2 separate regions of the Homo sapiens genome follow, and region 1 is linked to region 2. The links are contacts of gene promoters, found by promoter capture Hi-C in human tissues and cell types (Jung and others, 2019). All regions are on one chromosome and are shown on one strand. Each heading gives the region's core, a stretch centred on a gene start or on the middle of the fragment in contact. The rest is flanking DNA. Distances are from core to core; before and after follow the strand shown.

Region 1 (6,913 bases), core at 1,479-3,978, 84 kb after region 2:
TCAGCCTACCTATCTGATATATCATGCTGTTTTGGTTACTGTAGCCCTTTAGTATAGTTTGAACTTCAGTAAGCATGATGCTTCCAGCTTTGCTCTTTTTGCTTAGGATTGCCTTGGCTATTTGGGCTCTTTCTTTGGTTCCATATCAACTTTAAAATAGGTTTTTTCTTGTTCTGTGAAGAATGTCAATAGTAGTTTGTGTAGAATAGCATTGAATCTATAAATCGCTTTAAGGAGTATAGACATTTTAACGACATTGAGTCTTTCTGTCCAAGAGCATGGAATGTTTTTCCATTTGTTTGTATCATCTCTGATTTTTTTTAGTAGTAGTTTATAGTTGTCGTTGTAGAGATCATTCACCTCCCTTGTTATCTGTATTCCTAGGTATTTTATTCTTTTTTTGTGGCAATTATGAATGAGAGTTTGTTCCTGACTGGACTCTCAGCCTGACTCTTTTTGGTAAATGGGAATGCGAGTGATTTTTGCACATTGATTTGTATCCTGAGATGTTGCTGAAGTGGTTTATTGGCTTAAGAAGCTTTGGGGCTGAGACGATGGGGTTTTCTAGATATAGGATTATGTCATCTGCAAACAGGGATAGTTTGACTTCCTCTCTTCCTATTTGGATGCTCTTTACTTCTTTTTCTTGCCCGATTGTTCTGGCCAGGACTTCCAATACTATGTTGAATAGAAGTGGTGACAGAGGGCATCCTTGTCTTGTACTTGTTTTCAAGGGGAATGCTTCCAACTTTTCCCTATTTAGCATGATGTTGGCTGTAGGTTTGTCATATGTGGCTGTTATTATTTTGAGGTATGTTTCTAAACCCTCATGACACAGGTTTACCTATGTAACAAACCTGTGCATGTACTCCTGAACTTAAAAGGTTTTTGTTTGTTTGTTTTAAAAAAAGAAGTTAGGGACTGGATAAGAGGAAACTGAAATCAGAAGCTAGAAAGTAGGTGAATCGAGTCATGCAGTGGCAAAAAACCTTGATTATCTGTGGTATATTTGAAAGCAAACTGTGGACCTATTAAGCTTGTGGCTCTTAAGGAAAAAAGTTGGAATTCATTATCTTAGCACACTTTCTTGTTTGTTATTGGTATAAATAGATAAGAAATTATAAGCAATAATGAGTTTACGGTAGAATTTAAAAGATCATGAGCAAATTGCAGTGTTGGAAAAGCTAACTGCTGCTATATGCCAAACAATAAAAAATTAATTTAAGATATATACATTTTTCCATTATCCCAGTAAAAATTTTCAGTTGTTTAAAGTGACCCAGGGATAATGTCAGCATAAGGTAGATAGCCACTATTAAATTGAGTGAGACAGATGTGACAGTGAGAAAGTAGAACAATATAAGCAGATTTGAAAACTATGTCTATTAAAAGAACTTAAGTTTGGAACAGACAAGAACCAAATATATTTGACACCTACAAAGTTTTGAGGAAAATAGGGACCGTAAAAAAGTTAAGATATGTTAATACTTAGAACTCTTAAGAGTTCATCCTTCATGAGCAATAGGCACATTTCAAAAGCCTCTAGCTCTCCAGGAGTTCAGGCTCTTCCAAAACCACTTTAAATGATAAAATGAATAATGAACTAGGAGGAACTTTCCAGGATGTGGAGCCAGGACCAAGAAAAACTATGGACAAGACAGCTTGTCTCATACAGTGGATTTAGAGATTGATTAAAAAAAAATCAAATAACTCCCCGACACTTCTAGGGTATAGGGGTTTCACAATATCAGCTCACTGGTGTTTCAGAATTACTAGAGACCAATGACTATAAGGTCTCCTCTTAATTCCCTTTCCAAATTGAAGTACTTATTCTGGATATCCAGGCTCTCTGCATAGTGTGTGAATTTATCTGTCTGTAGTCAGGTGACTAAACTTTCTGTTCAAGGGGCATGATCATTTAGACTTCTAGGAGAATATACAGGTTTTCAGGATCTATGGTCAGGGCTGTGTATGACTTAAAGATCATGGAGTTTAAACTGGATTTAATAACTGGGTGAGTCTCTGTGTTGTGCTCCTTAGGAAAAAATAAATTGTGTTCTATGGGTAGGAAAAAAAGAGAAACAGATATTTGGTGAACATAAAAGGGAATTATAGCAGAGACACTACATTACCAACTGCTCTAGCTAGTGTGGGACCATATAACTGGATAGTGGCAATGTGACCACTATCTTTAGTGTGGGAACAAGTGATATGTACTATTTCTAGGCCTGACCATGAACTTCCTTGCACAGTCATTCACACTGCCTTTCACTTTTGGGACAAGCAGAAAGGCTACATAAAAGATGGTGGAGTAAATTGCCAGTAACCTGGTTCACTCTATTACTGCCTGGAGGATGGTCACCAAGAAAAACTCCCTACCTGAAAAGGATTCTGTATCCAAGAAGATAAGTAAGTTTTATTGCTTAAATTTACTAAGATTTGGGTGTCTATTTGTTACTTGAACACAGCATAGCCTGTCCTATCTAATAAAATATGTTTCACTCAGCTAACAGATGTAGCAATGTTTCATACAATTTTGTGCATCAAGCACTTAGCACAGTTCATAGTACAAAGTAAGAACAAACAATTTCTATTCAGTGGGTATTTGTTTATGTAATGAGTTAGATTAGAAGTTCAGACAGATAATATTTTACAGATGAGGAAACAAAGATCACCCATATGCAGTGAATTGAATTATTGTTCCCAATTCTTCACCTCCCAGCAGCAAGGTTATAAATGAACCACCTTTAACTTGCATTTTTTTTTTTTTTTTTTTTTTAGTGTGGTGTCTCTGTGGGGTCACAATGTATTTGCCTATCCCATTGATATTGGGCTTGCCAGGTGACTTGCTTTAGCCAATAGGATGAGTGTGTAAGTTACACCATGCTAATTCTCAGTTAAAGAGTTAAGAAGTGTTCCGGTTTCCGCTTGCCTCTCAGGCAGGGCTTCTTTCAGGTCATAAAAATAGTGCACCCAGGGAGCTGCTAGTTTCAGAAGGAGATGTGAGAAAACAAGAATCCACCTGAAGACTGGAGCCCAGCTCAGCCGAACCATTGTAATCCAGCTAAGATTGCTAAAACCTCAGGAATTCACAGACCTGAGAGCTATAAAAAGGAAAATAAATAAAAATAAGGTTGTAGGAGAGAGAGATTTTAAGGTTGTTTGCTACACAACAAAAAGTGACTACTACAATGAATTTAATAGCTGGAAATTGAATTTAGCCTTTCACTATACAATGGGAAAGATTCATTTTAAATTTAAACAGTAATTCTTCTATTTAGTTCCTACTAAATGTTTAAGTTGGAATGCATCTTTAGTCTTTAAACTGTTTTATTTTTATTTCTTGATATTTATTTCACTCTGTAATTTACCATTAAAAAAGGACTTTTAACTTTTAAAAAGTCATCACTCAAAAGAAATTTGTTTCCCCAATTACAAAAATTAACAAGATAAAGAAACATAAATTAAAAATTTAAAAATGGCCATTTTAAAGATTGCTACTTTTCTCCTCTTATGAAAATATTCAACTCTAATGGATTTTGTTAATATCTCTCAGGTCCTCTATGGCATTTAAGAAATAACATTCACTGGAGTTTATACAATATAACTATGCAATTACTTTCCGCATCTTCGATGTGTAATGTGGGGAAATGCTCATTTATGGTTTTTTTTTTTTAGGCTAGCCCCATATATTTAACAGCAAACAGTTTACTAGCAAAACCAAGATGCCTCCTAATTACCTGAATTTATTTTTAGCACTTTCTCCATTAACTATGCATTAGAAAAATGTTTTTATAACTTATCCCATTAAGTATCATTATCAATATTGTGCTGTCATATCTTCCATGACCCTCCTTTCTGTGTGGGCTTCCCTGTTTATTTTATAGTAAATCTTTTAAAATGCAAATTTTATTCCCTCTTTCCCTGTGAGCTAGATTTAAGACCTCTTCCCTGAAGTGACCGTTCCTTCTTTCACTTTAGTCAAAAACTGATAACAGTCTTGGCAGTAGGAATGAATTTACTACTCAATTAAAGTTACTAGAAAATTCGGGCAAAAGTACTATACTGGTTGGACAGTTAGACACTACCTCTGTGGCATTAAATTTAGTATTTTATGTACTGGAACTAAGACTAGGAGAGATTACATTCTAAATTGCACATACAGAACATCTTGGTATAATATACATGGTTTATTGGTATAAAACAATGCATTATTACTGGAAGTGTTAGATAAATTTTAAATGTATGTGAAATTGCCAATCAGCATTTTTCCAGTTCTATTTTCTACTATATATTTACTAATTGCTTTATAATAATTAAGAAAAGAGAAAAATACTTACGAAGACAAGATAGAATACATTAAATGGTAGAATTTCAATATTTGTAATTTGTTTTTATTATTTGTTCCTGTATTTTTCTATTTAAATCCTTTATCTTAGCAAATACAGGTGCAAAATGATAGTCATAACACGTACAACATTTAAAATAAAATATATGTCTTATGAGGAAAAAATAATCTTTCCATTCTTGTCTTCGTAAGCCTATATTTAACTTAATGTGAAAGCAGGAGGAGAGTTTCATTGTTTGGGCTTTTGAAAATGAAAGTCAGATAATAGTTTTCAAGTTTATTCATCAGGAAACTTATCACATTTTAACAAGTCTTCCATTTAGAAAAATCTTTTTATTTTTCTTTTGGACATTCACTGGTGACTTAGCATGACAAATTTTATTCATTCTAAAATAGTACAGGAAAATCTGATGTTATCACTTAGAATATTAAATACTATATTGTAAGTTTAGGTTAAAATGAATAGTGTCAAAGGCAGTTCAACCTCAAAGGAAGAAACAGAAAATAGGATAACATGATCCTAAATTTTTACCTGACCTGATTTTATCAATACGTGTTACTCTATGCAACAAAGTTTTTGTGGCCAATGACCTTATATTACTTCTGTATCTTTAGTGCAGTTGTTCTTAACCTTGGCACTACTGACATTTGGAACTGAATAATTCTTTTGTGGGAGGTTGTCTTGTTCATTTCAGGATGCTTAAAAGCGTCCTCAGCCTCTACCCATATAAATATCCTTGACTCAATGCATAGAAAGCATTCTAGATGATAGTACCTTATTCTTGCCTGATATTGCCTCCAAGATGATGCTTTAGATTTTCTTTCAGCAGGACTTCCTTACGCACTGTCAGATCAGCAGCAGTGGGGTGATGTATTCTGTGTTACAGCCAGTGGATCCTGATTAGATGCTTTTTGGGAATTACCTGGCTGTCAATAAGGCATTCTGTAAGCACCTGCATAGTGGTGCTGGCTGAGGCCCAGAAAGAAGAAAAAGCAAACTCCCACTCTGAATAGGTACCTATTCCTTTGTAAATGAACCACATGAAACCTGTAGTATAAAAGGGCCCAATATAGTCAACTTGGAACTAGGTAGCCATTTGGTCTACCTAATAATGTCATACTATTACTTATTGTATGTAAGCATTGGTCTGTATTGTTGGAATTGGGGAAATTCACAGGTGGTGGTAACAGTAGTTTAGCTCAGGTAAGTAGAATGCATACTTCTGGGTGCATGCCTGACTTCTGTCCTTGTTATCATAGCCTAGTCTTTAATGTATGCATAATGATAGTATTGTGGTGGCTGCTGGCATTTCTGTATCAACTAACATGAACTGGTTGAGCATTACTTTCACTTGGAAGTTTGATGCCTCTTCCCTGGTGTGTGTATTCTGGTAGGCATTCTTACTTCATGCCTAATACCCTATGTCCAAACATATACCTTTACCCTAGACTTCCTTGAGTAAATCTTTTAATCATTTTCTTCCCAAGTCCATCATCAACTAATCCAGCCATTTTCACTGCCCATTAGTCTGCATATGTTATAACCTTAGGTCAATTCTCCTTCCACATAGAGTAAATGTCCAAGTGCTCCTGTCTTATGAGAGTCTTTGAAGCCTAACCTTGAGTGAAGCCACCATTCCTTTCTGGCTAGCTTCCACATAATAAGCAAAACCACATGTAAAATATGCTTGGGCTTTTTCCTTATCTTGTAGCTGTTTTTAAGTGATTCACCCAAAGGGTCTGTTGAGCCCACTGAACTTTCTGACTCAGTGCATCTGACAGTACCAGACTCATCATGGGAAGTTACAGGCAGTCAAGATTCAAACCTTCTGCTTCTACCAGTGCTCAGTAGCATTACAGGAGCTATTTGAAAAATGACTTCAAATTTTTTATTGCATATTGCATACCCTTGCTCCAGAATCCCAGGATGCACCAGAGCTTGCCATAACTCCACACTGAATCTTTTCCCCACATCCATACTTCAACTTCAAAGATTATGTTGAATCATACAACCCACAGTGCTGCTGCTCACACTGCAGCCTGGAAGTGCTGAAGTGTGAAGCCCCTTTCAAAGCTGGAAACCTTCCCTTTCTCCCTGTATGTGGGCTGGAGCAGTATTTGAGGGTGTACAATGTGTTTTCTTCGGAACTCGAGGAGGTCTACTAGGAGTTATACTTCCTTCTTTAGAGTAGGAGATGAAAACAAAATACAGCAATTTATCTTTTACATTAGAGGGGATGTCCTGTCATGTCCCTTACTACTGCACCATTAAAACTTTACAGTAGTGACTGGTCCTTTAATCATTGAATGGTTTATCTTCCAGCCTCTGAAACACACGTGTCCTACCAAAGCCAACTGGAGCCACTTCTTGTTTATCCTTCCTAATGAGCATAATGTCATTGATGTAATAAATCAACATAATGTTCTGCAGGATGTCTAGACAGTCCAGATCTCTTTTTACTATATTATGACAGAGTGTAATAGAGTTAACACAGTCCTTTGGCAAACAGTAAATGGATATTCTTGTTTGGTCCAAGGGAACGGGAACGAGAGCTGTTTCTTATC
Region 2 (7,166 bases), core at 333-2,832:
TATATTTTTCCTGACATAACACAAAGGTTTTATTTAGATATTACAAAATATTGGCAAATGTTAGACTACATGTTTTTTATATATATGTATAATGAACTTATTAACCCTTTTGTAGAAAGAAGAGTGTCCTACTTCTGTAAAAAGAAATGCTACAGCTACTGACATGGTGATGTTAGCCCCAAGAGGAATACTGCCTGCAAAAGTTTTTGATGCAGAGATATTCAGCCTTAGGAGACACCTTAAACCTGTCACTGGCTGCTGAGCCCTGTCAGAGTTTATAACCCGCTGTGTCAAAGTCACAGTCTCAGCCCTGCCCTCTCCAAAGTATTTTTCACATTCTCTCTCCAAATTAAGTTCATTCTAATTCTCCAACTATTCTAGTTCCAGGATTTTCCTCCAATTATTATCTCCTTACAGGCATGAAGAAATCGCAACAGAATTTTCATCTGGTCTTTCAAACCATCCTTATTAACTTTCCCTTTTCCGCCCCCCCCCCCTTTTTTTTTCTAGAGCTTTTCAGAACTAAAGATAAAACAACCAACCAACTGAAGTCAGAGTAGGGTGGGAGTTAGCATGGATTAGGGCTGAGGTTGAAGGTGGCAGGAGAAGTGAGCCAGTAGGGTTAGATTTTTCAAGCTTTTTCTAGATAACCACCCTTAAATCTTAGAACCAACCAATGTTTAACAAAGCAGGCTTCCAATAGCCCTTGAACAATAAACGTTTAAAAATCAGTTTTCCAGTAAGGCTGCCCATACTGATCCCATATCGAAGTCTTCTAAGGGCTCTTCCAAAAAAAAAAAAAAAAGAAAAAAATGCTTAGCGAACCACTTCTCAAATAGGAGCTACTGAAGTTATATAAGTCAAGTTATTCCCAGGTAAAATGAATAAACTGTCCACAGCATTGGACATTGGGCATTGAAAAGCATCAGCATATGCTTCACTTTAGAGAAAAGAAAGACAGAAGCACAGTTTACTTACTAAAGCAGCCGCTCCAGTCCTCCTTGGAAACCCTGAGGAGTCTTCTCTTTTCTTTCCTACCAGTCAAATAAAGAATTGTCTTTCTATTCCACACAGGCCCAGAATAAACTGCAAAAAGGGATGGCACATGCACAGCAGCCCGTCAGGGTTTGGCTTTGGTGGGGTGCTTCGATTTCTGATTGTTTCAAAAGTGGGATCTTCTTTTCCGGAGGGAGGGGGCAAAGGAAGAAAAAGAAAGCGCGCTCGGAAAGCCGGCTTGGGTCCTGCTAATTATTCTGAAGGCAAAGTACCTGCACTCTCCCCGCCGAGGCTGGCTGGCGGCGCCGCGCCGGAGGGGAGGAGGCTCGGGAGGAGGAGGAGAAAGAGCAGCGGGAGGACTCGGGCTGGGAGGGGAGCGCAGGGTTGGGGAGGCCGATGAGCGGCTCCCGGCTCCTCGGAGAAGCAGCCGAGACGGCAAGGAGGAGGCGAGGCTCTGTCGGGGCGAGGCGCTGCCCCCACGCGCTCCGGCCGCCGGCTGCGGGCGCGGCTGGGCGGGGAGCCGAGGCGGCCGCTCCCGCACTCGCTCGCTCGCTCGCTGGCGCTCCCTCCTCGTCTCGCTCGCACTCACAGGCACACACCCCACGTCTCCAGCAGCTGCCGCTCGGCCTCACGCACTCACCTGCATTTCCTTAACGAGCCACTTGATGGCTGCCAGCGGCGTGGGCCCCGCTCCGGCGGGCGGGGGCCGGGGCGGGGAGAACGCGGCGCGGGATGCTCCGAGCGCCCGCTGGGGAGAGAAGCGGCGGCGGCGGCGGCGCTGCGGGCGCGCCAGATGGGGCGGGAGGAGGGGAGACCCGGCACCCACCGGCCCAGAGCTGCCTGACGCGGCCTGGGCGGACCCCGCCGCCCGGGTGCCTAGGCACGATTCCAGGGATCCAGGGTAAAGCGGTTCGCGCGGGAACAGGAGGATATGTCAGGCACAGGCTATTCCCCATCACTATAGCCACAGAGGACTGGTCCAGATGCGGATCCCGATCTGTGCTTCTTCAGGTGTTCGCGTGCTTTCGGTTATTATTATTATTATTATTTTCCGAGGGAGGCTGTCGGTAACACCTAAGGGGTAGTGGGTGTTAATAGCTGGGGGACGTACATTTGATTTGCAATGGAATCGATGCTTATGAAGAGCAGACTTAGGGAGGTGAAGGGCAGGGGCACAGGGGTTGCTTGGCGGAGGGGGTGTACTTCGGCTGAGCTGGATGGAGTTTTCAGTCGGGGCGCTTGGCAGTCTGGCTGGGCTTGAGGGAGGGATAGAGCTCTGCCAAGGTGGTAGCTGAGAAGGGAAAACCTGTACAAGAGTTGCTGAGAATATGCCTCGCTGCAGAGGAGAGGACATGGATGCAGGGAGCGGATTCTTCCCCACCTCCTCCTTACCCCAAGGTAGAGTGGGGTATCGGAGTGCATCAGATGTGGTGTACCACAGACTCGGGAGACAGGGGAGGAGGAACTTAGACCCCCAGCGAAACTAGAAATAAGGTTTGGAGCTGGGGGGAGAAGAAGGGGCAGGATGAGAGAAAAACAGCAGGAAGCTTTTTGTCATTTTACTATCTTTCATGTCTCATCAGAGCATACAGCTATAGGCAACAAATGCTCTGTCTCTTGATAAACAGAGAGCAATGTCACCATGTCGGTGCGTTTTCTAAAAAGCCAAAATAATTATCCTGTTTGTAATATGCAACACAGAGCATTCCAGGTACCATCTGGTCAAAGGTTCTGTAAGCACTGTAGAAGAAAACAAATAAAAAAAGAACAACGAAAAACCAGTTATCCATCTACTTTCCTTATATGTCAATGATCTAATCGCAGAAATGTCACTTTCTCCCGAAGAGAAATAAAGCTTAGTCACTATAGGTGGAATTTTCCCCAGGGTCCCTTCACCTTTTTCTTTTCATACCTTCTCCACTGCTTGCTGTGTCCCTTTGCTCTTTAAAAGGGACCCTTCTCCTGAACCCACGCGCTGCCGGGTTCCCTGCTCAGCCTCCCTAAAGCCACGGAGCCTACCCATCCAAGAAGGTTCCCATGCACAAACAGTCATCATCACTTAAAAAGGTTCTTGGAAATGACAAGATATGAACGAAAAAAAATTACACCATATGTGCAAGTGTGTGTGCATGTGTACATATTTTTGTAATTATACAAAGCACTTGCCCCTCTTACGGTGCTGTCTCCCCAAGATGATGATGACTGACTCATATTCTCTCTCTCTCCCTCCCTCCTTCTCCCTTTCTGCACAAATACACACCACTCACTCCTGTCTCAGTTCCTTCCTGTCAGTGTTCAATAATGGTTTTACATGAACTTTCTGTTAGGCAGCCTCTGACTACCAAGGGCGAGTTGGAGTGGATTGGTAGGAGGGAGGCTGGTCTCAATGATGCCGCTCTGTTTCCTGCCATCCCTCAGTCATTACATACACTACTGTACTTAATGCCAAGTAGAAGCAGAAATGATTTCCTCTCTTGCTAGTCACAATAATATATTTGTCCTCCCTCAGAAACACAAGTAATTAATAATAAAAGAAATAATGCATCTTGAAACCATGGGAAGAGCAGATGGAGGCTGATGTGGTTGTGTTAGTCACCTTTTCTGTTGTTGTTGTTGCAAAGACAACGTGACCACCTCTCCCTTTCTACTGCTTCTGGTGGGTTAAGCAAAGCATTTGGCCCTTTTACTGTATTCTCTTTTCCATCTTTCCCTTGACAATAGTTTGTGTGTTTTAAGTAAAGATTTCATTCTGCCAACCCGCAGGAAGCTTTTAACAAGATGCAGCTGAGCGTGTCGATATCTTATATCTTTTTACTGCTGCATGGGGGTGTTCAGCAACTTGAAACTCTTCTCTACTTCAGCTCCAGGCTGGGATCTCACAGAGACAGTGCTCCCTGGGGCTGATTTACTCTTGCTCCTGTACAACTATCCTTTGGTGTCCTCTGGAAAACAAAGAATATTTTAAACAATGGAAGAATCAGTGTTATACTCAATCCCCTTCCTCCTACCTCCTCCCCACATAATAATATCACAAATGTTCAATGGATTAGCTTATTGTAGAGATTTTATTATTAATTACATCTGAGAATTGGATTGAGATATCTTACTTGAAGGTGATTGCACCAAGCTTAAGGAGTTAAGAAAATTTTATTATCTAACTACCTAGCTACACTTCCTGTAACATTATAATTTATTTCTCCTTCTTCAATAAAAAGGCAGATGCAAATGTCCGCTTTAAGTTATTGCCATATATTTACTCTTAAAAATCAGTAACCTATCTGAATTGGTTGTTGTCAGTGGACCACGTGTTTAAAACAACCATAACAAATGTAAGATAAAAATAACCAAAAAGGGACAGTGAAATTGGGCCAACAAAGCATGGTCCTGAATATCAGTTGCTTTGAGGTTCCCTTTATTTTAACACATTTCTTTATTTATCAAATCTACATTTAGCTTTGTTATATATAGGCTTATAATTAATTTTAACAGCCTGCTGTAAGGAGAAGAAATCTCAAAATTTACATTTGTATTTTGGATTTTTGAGGGAAATAAGTAATTTCCTTCCTGACTCAGTTTTTAAATTAGAATTTGCAATACATAAATAGCAACTACACAGCAATAATTTCCTGTTCTAGTATGTTATTTAAATGTTTTGAGAGCATCATGAGGAAATTTCCTAATTATACAGCACTCCATATTGTGGAATTGAATAAAGAGATAATTCCATATTGTGGAATTGAATAAAGAGATAATTCCATAGTGTGGAATGGAATAAAGAGATAAAAGGGTAATAAGGAAGCCAGGGAGAGCAAGTAACCTGTTGGAAAGGAGACAAGGATCTAGGAGGTGTTCGAAGCCCAATCTGTAGGTAGGTTGGATTTGTCAGCAGTAGACTCTCACACTTTGACTATTGTTTGTTTGTTTGCTTTGCCTCAGTCTGCAGTAATGGTGTTCACTTAATTTATTCTCCCTTTTCTCCACTTTTCGTTCTAAAGTTATGCCACTTGGCAGAAACTACAAGTAGAAACAATTTTATATTGATAACATAAAATCATGCAGAAAACCATGTACTTAATGAATCAAACTGCTCATACTTATTTCATGTGGGAAAAGATAATCTCCTGCTCTTTAACTTTTATTTAGTCAATGGAAGTACAATTTCAATTGACTAAATGGGTATAATTTACCCAATTTCTTATAGATGGTTGGATACCAAGAAAGCTGCTCAGGAAACCTTACAACACAATGGAAAAAGTGAGTTGACTATATAATTATTCAATGAGTTGTCTATATAATTATCCAATTTAAGGAGTCTTAATGAAGTCATATTTGAGATGGTTGTAGGTACAAGGTATAGATGTCATTCCACTGAAATCATGATGTAGCTAATGCTAAATTACACACAATCTAAAGGCTTCAGGTTTTGACATAATGTACACATTTATTTTCTCACTTATTGTGCTGGTAGCTTTCTATCCCTGCCCCTCTATTTAATCCCAACCTCAGACCCCTCATGTGCTCTTTTCTGTGCTCTATGGATTAATCTTTAGGTATTGTACTAACCTGGTTTCCCTTGTCCCCTGGTTTCTGTTTGGGTTTTGTCAATGAGAGGCACCAGAAAGGGGCAGGAGGAGAGAAAAAGCAGGGCCATGTTTCCCCCATTTGCAGCATAACTTGGCACTGTGGTTCTTTCTGGCAGTGGCTACACAGTCTTTTCTTGTCACCACCTTTCCATAGCTCTACCTCATATTTTCCCCCAATATCCCCATTGTATCTGTTGCTCCTTCAGCTTTCCACTATGGCTAGCAATTAAAATAGCCAGTATCCCTCATGGGATCCCATAACACAGCTACCCTTCTAGAAAGTATCCCTTATCGAAATTCTCTTTAAAATGATTCCTGATTGTGCCTTCCATTTCCTCCTGATACTCTGAATCATCCATTTCTGTTTTTTAAATTCATAGTATTCAAAGATATAATTTTTATTCAATTGTCCTAGGTTTAACAAATATATTGTCTAATGTGTAGAGAAGTGCCAAAACATTATTATTACTCAAAATGAAAATAACTGTAACATACCACAAGAAAATGTTTGATGGTACAGCTGTGATGGTAAAGTTCATGTGTCAACTTCAGTGGACTAAGAGATGCCCAGATAAATAGAGAAGCATTATTTCTGGGTAAGTCTGCAAAGGTATATTTGGAAGACAGTAGTATTTGAATCAGTAGACTGAGTTAAGAAGATCATACTCACCAGTGTGGACAGGAATCATCTAATCCAGTGGGGGCCAGAATAGAACAAAAAGGCAGAGGAAAGGTGAATTCTGTCTTGCTCTCTCTATCTCACTCTATTTCTGTCTTTCTCTCTCCCTCCCTCTGTTACTCTCTACCTCTCCCCATCTTTCCTTGATCTGGGAAGCTGACACCCATTTTCTCTTGTGCTCAGACATTGGAGCTCCTGGTTAAGCCTTCAGACTCCAGGAGGCACACCATTGGGCTCCTCAAGTTCTCACCCCTTTGGTCTCAGACTGAATTATACCACCAACTTCCCTGGTTCTCCACCTTGCAGATGGCAGATTGTGGAACTTCTTGGCCTCCATAGTTGCATGAAGCAATTCTCATATTAATTCGCCACTTACATATCTATACATATTCTCTTGGGTCTGTTTCTCTGGAGAACCCTGACTTATACATGACCTTCATGTATAGCTAAATAACAATGTATTAATATTTTCCACAGAGGTGTCATGTCTCTGTATATTAAATGATCCAAGGCCAGGCGCGGTGGCTCACGCCTGTAATCCCAGCACTTTGGGAGGCCAAGGTGGGCAGAGGAGGTCAGGAGTTTGAGACCAGCCTGGCCAATATGGTGAAACACCTTCTCTACTAAAAAAATGTTAGCTGGGCATGGTGGCGCACACCTGTAATCCCAGCCACTTGAGAGGCTGAGGAGGGAGAATTGCTAGAACCTGGGAGATGGAAGTTGCAGTGAGCCAAGATTATGCCACTGCACTCCAGCCTGGGTGACAGAGCGTGACACTGTCTCAATAAAAATAAAAATATATGATACAGATTCATCAAAATTATAAAACTACCTCAGTTTTTAAAAAACATGTTTGTCACTGTTTTATGGTATCTGATTGCAAAATTACAATAATGATGGCTAGTATT

Evidence for each region. The method cuts DNA at HindIII sites, captures the fragments that hold promoters and counts their contacts. A contact is called where the count stands out against the background at its distance.
Region 1: a contact is called between a fragment that was not itself captured here and the fragment with the promoter of PTPRD in region 2, in 2 of the 25 tissues and cell types used here (heart left ventricle and spleen).

Annotation. Positions count from the first base shown.
Region 1 is chr9:10,694,343-10,701,255 of GRCh38, forward strand. No RefSeq gene overlaps it. Among named protein-coding and RNA genes, the nearest start is that of PTPRD-DT, 85 kb to the left of the region's middle. The HindIII fragment of the contact is 8,629 bases long and covers 1-6,913 here.
Region 2 is chr9:10,611,420-10,618,585 of GRCh38, forward strand. PTPRD (protein tyrosine phosphatase receptor type D) reads right to left here and starts at 1,583. Exons shown (of 46, transcript NM_002839.4): 1 at 1,269-1,583; 2 at 979-1,086. It overlaps PTPRD-DT (PTPRD divergent transcript), which reads left to right and starts at 1,787. Exons shown (of 3, transcript NR_110696.1): 1 at 1,787-2,007; 2 at 5,198-5,250; 3 at 6,442-7,166. RefSeq lists a silencer at 1,528-1,737. The HindIII fragment of the contact is 2,966 bases long and covers 1-2,697 here.